2 separate regions of the Homo sapiens genome follow, and region 1 is linked to region 2. Evidence: promoter capture Hi-C in human tissues and cell types (Jung and others, 2019). All regions are on one chromosome and are shown on one strand. The core of a region is centred on a gene start or on the middle of the fragment in contact, and the rest is flanking DNA. Distances in the headings are between cores, read along the strand shown.

Region 1 (3,594 bases), core at 212-2,711, 220 kb after region 2:
CTGTTCAGGGTTTCTAGTTCTTCCTGATTTGATCTAGGAGAATTACATGTTTCCAGGAAGTTATCCATTTCCTCTAGATTTTCTAGTTTGTGTGTATAAAGGTGTTCATACTAGCCTTGAATGTTATTTTTTTATTTCTGTAGTATCTGTTGTAATATTGCCAGTTTCATTTCTAATTCAGCTTATTTGAATGTTCTCTCTTCTTTTCTTGGTTAATCTCACTAATAGTTTATCAATTTTGTTTATCTTTTCAAAGAACCAGCTTTTTGTTTCATTTATCGTTTTTTTTTTTGTTTCAATTTCATTTAGTTCTGCTCTGATCTTTGTTTTTTTTTTCCTTCTGCTACATTTGGATTTGCTTTGTTATTGTTTCTCTATTTCCTTGAGGTGTGACATTAGGTTGTCTATTTTTGCTGTTTCAGACTTTTTGATGTAGGCATTTAATACTATTAGCTTTCCTTTTGGTACTACTTTTGCTGTATCCCGGAGGTTTTGATAAGTTGTGTCACTTTATCATTCATTTCCAATAATTTTCAATTTCCATCTTAATTTCATTATTAACCCCAAAATTATTCAAATGCAGATTATTTAATTTCCATGTATTTGTATAGTTTGGAGGGTGAGTTGCTTTTAGATCTAGCAGTAATTGTTTTATAAATCTTGGAGCTCCTGTGTTAGGTGCATATAAATTTAGGATTGTAATATCTTCTTGTTGAACTAATCATTTTGTTATTATATAATGTCCTTCTTTGTCTTTTTTTATTGTATTGTTTCAAAGTCTGGTTTGTCTAATGTAAGAATAGTGACTCCTGCTTGCTTTCAGTTTCCATTTGAGTGGAATACCTTCTTCCACCCCTTTACCATGAGTTTATGTGTCAGTTTCCATTTGCGTGGAATACCTTCTTCCACCCCTTAACCATGAGTTTATGTGAGTCCTTTTGTGTTAGATGGGCCTCTTGAAGACAGTAGACATTTGGTTAGCGGTTTTTTAATCCATTCTGCTATTCTGTACCTTTTCAAGTGAAGCATTTAGGCTATTTACATTCAACCTGAATATTAAGATGTGAAGTACTGTTCTATTCATCATATTAGTTTTTACCTAGATACTTTGTTTTTCTTCATTATGTTAATGTTTTATAGGCCCTGTGAGATTTATGCTTTAAGGAGGTTCCATTTTGATATAGATCAAGGTTTTGTTTCAAGATATGGAACTCCATTTAGCATTTATTGTAGTGCTGGTTTGGTAGTGGAAAATTTCCTCAGCATTTGTTGAAAAATACTTTATCTCTCCATTTATGAAGCTTAGTTTTGCAGAATGCAAAATTCTTGGCTGACAATTTAAGGAGGGTAAAGATAGGACCCCAATCCCTTCTGGCTTGTAAGGTTTCTGCTGAGAAATCTGCTGTTAGTCTGATAGTTTTTCTTTTATAGGTTACCTGATGCTTTTGTCTCACAGCTACCAAAATCCTTTTCTTCATGTTGGCTTTAGATAGCTTAATGACTACGTGCTTTGGTGATAATCTTTTTGCAATGGAATTTCCCAGGAATCTAAGCTTCTTGTATTTTGATATCTGTATATCTAGCAAGGCAAGGGAAGTTTTCCTCAATTATTCCTTAAAATAAGTTCTCCAAACTCTTAGACTTCTCTTCCCCCTCAGGAACATCAATTATTCTTAGGTTTGGCCATTTTACATAATCCCATATTTCTTGGAAACTTGGTTCATTTCTTTTGCTTCTTTTTTCTTTATCTTTGTCTGATTGGGTTAATTCAAAAGCCTTGTCTTCAAGCTCTGAAATTATTTATTCTACGTGTTCTTGTCTAATATTGAAATTTTCACTAAATTTTGTATTTCTCTAAGTATGTCTTTTATTTCCAGAAGTTCTGATTGTTTTTTTTTATGATATCCATCTCTCTGAAAATTTTTTCATTCATATCCTGAATTTTAAAACATTTTTTATGTTGGTTTTCACCTTTCTCTGGTTATTTCCTAGAGTAGCTTAATAATCAACCTTCTGACTTGTCTGGTATTTCAAAGATTTCATCTTGGTTTGAAGCAATTTTTGGGGAGTTAGTTTGATCTTTTGGGGGTGTTACAGAACTCTCTTTTGTCATATTACCAGAATTACTTTTCTGGTTCCTTTTCATTTGGATAGACTTTTCTTCAAAATTTTCTTGAATTTATTTTTATTTGACTGTGGTTTTTATTTAATTTCTTTTTTTCCCTCTTAGGAATCTGACTTTAACGTTTATAGTTTATTGCAGGCTAATTTAATTCTTGGTGCTTTTAGCAGGAAAGACTCTGTATGACTTCCTTAGTTATAGAGGGTCTTTGTGCACTGGCTTTTCCAGATGCTTGTTGTAGTAGTTATGTTCATGGTGTGTGGGCAAGTTCACTGTCTCATATGGGGTTGGAATGGCAAGGATTTTTGAAGCTTATCTCATTCTCCCATGGTGTATGCTTTTTTATTTACTTAATTTTTCTCCAGTGTTTTATTTACTGATTTGATGATCCAGGCTTCAGGTTAGTAGGGGAGTTATCCCTGGGTAGGCACTGGTTGTAGCTAAAGCAGGTGGGTAGATGTAATACCCAATGGTGGGCAGACGTCCCAGCCTTGTTGAAGGTGGCTGGGAAGCCCTCAATTAGATGTACAGAGGTTTTATCAGGTTGAAAGGTGGGAGCACCTCAGCTACCCTGCCAGGCCAGCAGGGAAGGCATCTACTTCCCAGCTTCATTTCTATCCCAGTGTTCTGGCTATTCAGGTTAGACAGGCTCCTCTTTTCATCTGTAAGAATGTTGATATTCTAAGTAAAGAGGAGTTGTGACTCTGCCTCTCATGAAAGCCTGACCTGGAAAGTGCTCTTCCTGTGGGGATGCAATCACCCTGACTTGTTCTAGGAAAGCTGTCTGTAGGTGCATCCATGTTGCATTCCTGTGGGAGAAGCCCCAGCTGTGTCTTCAGTGGTGTACTCATGGGAATAAGGACACCGTCTCCAAGACCCTTAATGATCAGAGAGGTTGCCTCCCTGTTGGGATAGAGGTTCAGAGCAGCACTGTAATTGTGTCTCTGCTGTAAGAAACTTCCCATTAGTGGAAAGATCTGGGACTCAAGAACTGCTGTTCAGATTCTTTTGTTCCACGGGGTGTTCCCTTGATGTGGTTCTCTCTCCCTTCCCCTAAGAATGGGAATTCCTGAGAGCCAGACTACAGTAACTGTTATTGCTCTTCTGGGTATAGCCACCGAGTGGAGTTACCAGACTCCAGACTGGTGCTGAGGAATGTCTGCAAGGGATTCAGTGATGTGACCTGTCTTCAAGTCTCCCAGCAGTGGATACCAGCACCATTTCTGACGAAGGTGGTAGAGGAGTGACGTAGACTCTGTGAGATTCCTTGGTTGATAGGCTTAGTGTGCTGGCTTTCTCAAGTGCTGGTCATAATTATTGTGAACTTGTCACGTGGACCCACTTAGAACCTTTGGTTAGCCAGGGTGTTGTACGCAGTGGTGATGAGTACAGCTGAGGTCATGCAGCCGTTTTCTCCATTCTGGACACAGTATTATTCTACCTAGAGGTGCTGTAATGGACTGTTTTGGTTG
Region 2 (3,544 bases), core at 275-2,774:
GACATTTTATTTCAAAACCCTAACCGGTCACATAATTAAAGGAACACAAGCTAAGCCGTAATAAAAGCAGAAACCAGTATACATAAACATTTTGGGGAAATTTCTTGTAATGACTGACATTTGCCACAGTTCGGAAACCAGATTTACAGTTTTTGCTTCAGACCTGACAGCTGAGTCGTGAGGACTTGGCCTTCAAAGAGAAGATATTTGCCCTAGAGCGCTCCCAAGTCCTGAGAAAGCACAGAGGGAGCGAAAGAGGTTTCAGCACTAGGTGCTGCTACCGAGTCTCAGGGACAACTCTCCCCTAAAAGAAAACAGAACCCCACTTCTCTAATTTTGTTTTTCCTCTTAACAGTGCAATTATTTTTAAAGGGAGTTGAGGAGGTGAGGGCACCTTGATTTTTGGAACTGGAGGCTCGGATGGCATTGTACAATCTCCCACCAAAATGTATCTATTCTGGACCAGTGAGTCTCAAACTTAGCCGAAAGGAATCATGCGGAGGGTGGGTTAAACAGCATACTGTGGAAGCCCAACGCCGGCGTTTCAGATTCAGTAGGTCTGGGATGGGCTGGAAATTTGCAATGCTAACAATTTTAAGTGCGGCGGCTGCTGCCACCGGTCCAGGGCACACTTAAGAGAATCACTACTGTAACGGGCACTGTGTTAAGTGCTGGGAGTGAATAAAATGGGTCCCGCCCGCAGGAAACCTAGTGGACATCCAGGTGAAATGAAGTCCCCGTGAGTTCCACGGTAGACTAAGGGGTGAGTCTACCCGAGGGTGCTTTCGCGCTCTGGCTGGGTGAGTGGCAGAAAAAGCCACTGATCTCGGTCGAGCAAGACAGAAGATAGTGTGAGTCACGCTGAAATTTACTTCCCTGAGCTGGTGGGGAAACTGCAGTCCCCCTCCATTCAGGACCGATTAGGGGCCTCTTGCTGTGCTGGACATCGGACTCCCAGCTTCCTCTTCCCTTGAGTCCCGCAGCTTTTCCTTCCTTCCCCAAGGAACAAAACAACTGAGATGCAGGATGTAAACAAAAGCCAGGCTGGCGAAATCCGGCCGACGCGCCCTTGGAGCGCCCCCACCGGCGAGGGCATTTCCCCCGCCCAGCCCCGGCCTCCCGGCTGGACGCCCTAACGCTGTAGTCCCTTGGTCGCCCTCCCCGCGCCCACCAGCCGTGGTCAACGCCGGACGCGTCAGGGGCCCCGCTAGCCCGAGCCTCTGCCGGGGGCAGCTGCCCCCACGCACTTTCTCCTGCTGTGCGCAGGCGCCGCCGCTCCGCGCTCTTTGCCGGCTGGGAAGAGAAGGGTCGCGGACAACTCACCTATCGCCGGAGGAGGATTCCTGCCGCCTGCGGGCGCCACGGGCAGCCCGAGGCCGGAGCGGCAGTGCCAGGCAGTCAGCAGGCAGCAGACGAGTGCGCGCACCAGCGCCATGGAGGGCCGCGGGGCTGACCTGGAGGTTCGGGCTGTCCCGCAGCTCCACTCGGACCGTCAGGCCTGAGGGTGAGGCGGAGACAGAAGACGGCTGCGGGTGTAGACGTCCGACTGATCACGTGCAAAGGCAGATTCCGCAGCGAGTCAGTTCGCCTGACCTTCAGCTGCTGTTTAGCGATGATCTGTTCTCGTATTTCTTAGCGTCAGTGTTTGGCCTAGGAAGGAATGTACTTGTAGAAGCTCAAATTCCGACTCGTGTATCAGTGGTGCAGTTGATGTCAAACACTGACATACTGGTGCTTGGGGATAGAGAAAGACATTCAATTTAGTAAAAGCCAGAAGGAGGGAGAACAAGATCTCTCAAATCCGTGTGTAAAAAGGAAAAAGCAGGGAGTTTTTATTCTGCTAGAGAATAAGAGAGGGGGATTTTCAAAGAATCCAGGGGAAAAGTCTGTTTCTTCAGTCTCAGATAACACCTTTGAGCAATTAGACGTCCAGGCATCCGCAGCTGGTTGCAAAGCCCTTGGAGGTATTCATCCCTTCTGCAAACATTTTTGTGACCCTGAAGTTAACCTCTTTGTTCTTGACGAGGAAGCAGTACCTCAGCAGTTTATAATTATATTGTGGAAACAAGGAGAATATTGGGCAAAAAGCGAGTGGTTAAAATGTGCAAGCAAGCAGGAGCCTGATCAGAATTTTCATTATTTCAGTCACTAAAAAATGCTGGGGTGCTGAAATCTCAACGATCCCGGTTCCATTCTTGGGCCAACCTACCCCAGCTTTAATGGGTAGGGCTCCTCAGTAGAGGTGATGCAGAGAGCCCTGAAGTATCATGATTTGAAGGAAATCAGCAAAAGTTATGGATACTGCAGTGGATCTCGAATTGAAGTCTCTGAACTGGGAACATTAGCACCACCTGGGAACTCTAGTTAGAAATGCAAATTCCCAGGCACCACCCTAGACCTGTTGAGTCAGAAACCTGCTGGAGCCCAGCAGTTTGTGTTTTCACAAGCATTTCAGGTCATGTTAAAGTGATTGTGATGTTTGAAAACCAATGCTCAAAGATACGACGTTTTGTTTTTTGTTTTTTTTAAACTGCCGGGAAGAGAAGGGTCTTAGAATTAGAACATGTTCTGAAATCATGCTTTATGCATTCCAGAGATGCATGGAAATCATAAGTAGAGGTGGTTGATTTGATGCTTCCACGGAACTTTTTTGAATATACTTCTGGCAAAGAAGTAAGTCTATACAAAGAAGTAAGCAAAGATAAGTCTGGCAAAGAAGTAAGTCTATACAAAGAAGTAAGCAAAGATAAGTCTGGCAAAGAAGCCAGAATCCCGAAACTGTGCTGGATCCTGTATTCTGTGTTCCTTCTCTCACCGTTTATGAGGATGCTGATCTCTTGGAGATGACAAGCTAATAATTTAAATTTATAGGGCGTGGAATTCCTTTGCAGAAGAAAATGCTTTCCATAATTACTAACCTCAAAAAAGATGTTGTAGAGTGTATTTCTTTCCCAGCATAGAAAGCTTTGTTTTGTATCCCATGTAATTTAATGGGAGTGTGTGTCATGAAACGGGCTTTGAAGTGGGAAGCAAGGTGCTTCCATTTTCTGTTTTGTAAACCAAAAATAAAATTTGAAGGCCCCCCACAACCATCTGAATGGACGACCATCTGTATGGACTCTTTCCCCAGTCAGGGCACTCTAAAATTTAACCTGAAAGACTGGTTCAGGCCATGAAAAAGGGGATGGGGGGGTTGGACATGCGTAATTAACATCAACATAGACCATAAGTCTGATAAGAAACATTTAAGATCTGTTTTCTCTAAAGCCTGCTACGTGGAGGCTTCGTCTGTGTGACAAAATCTGGGTCTAACAACCCCTTATCATAACCCAGACATCCTTTCTATTGATAATAACTTTTTCAATCAACCAATTGCCAATCAGGACATGTTTAAATCTTCCTGTGATCTGGAAACACCCACCCCCCGCCCAGCTTCAAGTTGTCCTGCCCGTCTAGATCGAACCAATGTAAAAATCTTACATGTATTGATTGCTGTATCATGTCTCCCTAAAATGTATAAAAGCAAGCTGTATCCTGACCACCT

What was found. Contacts are between HindIII fragments. The study calls those that stand out against the background at their distance.
Region 1: a contact is called between a fragment that was not itself captured here and the fragment with the promoter of SMPDL3A in region 2, in 3 of the 25 tissues and cell types used here (heart right ventricle, stomach and thymus).

What each region holds. Positions count from the first base shown.
Region 1 is chr6:122,569,352-122,572,945 of GRCh38, reverse strand. It overlaps a transcript of PKIB not described here. Among named protein-coding and RNA genes, the nearest start is that of PKIB, 39 kb to the left of the region's middle. The HindIII fragment of the contact is 3,594 bases long and covers 1-3,258 here.
Region 2 is chr6:122,787,238-122,790,781 of GRCh38, reverse strand. It overlaps SMPDL3A (sphingomyelin phosphodiesterase acid like 3A), which reads right to left and starts at 1,524. Exons shown (of 8, transcript NM_006714.5): 1 at 1,324-1,524. The coding sequence starts at 1,435. RefSeq lists silencers at 1-98, 1,204-1,498 and enhancers at 713-1,212, 1,213-1,714. The HindIII fragment of the contact is 4,348 bases long and covers 1-3,338 here.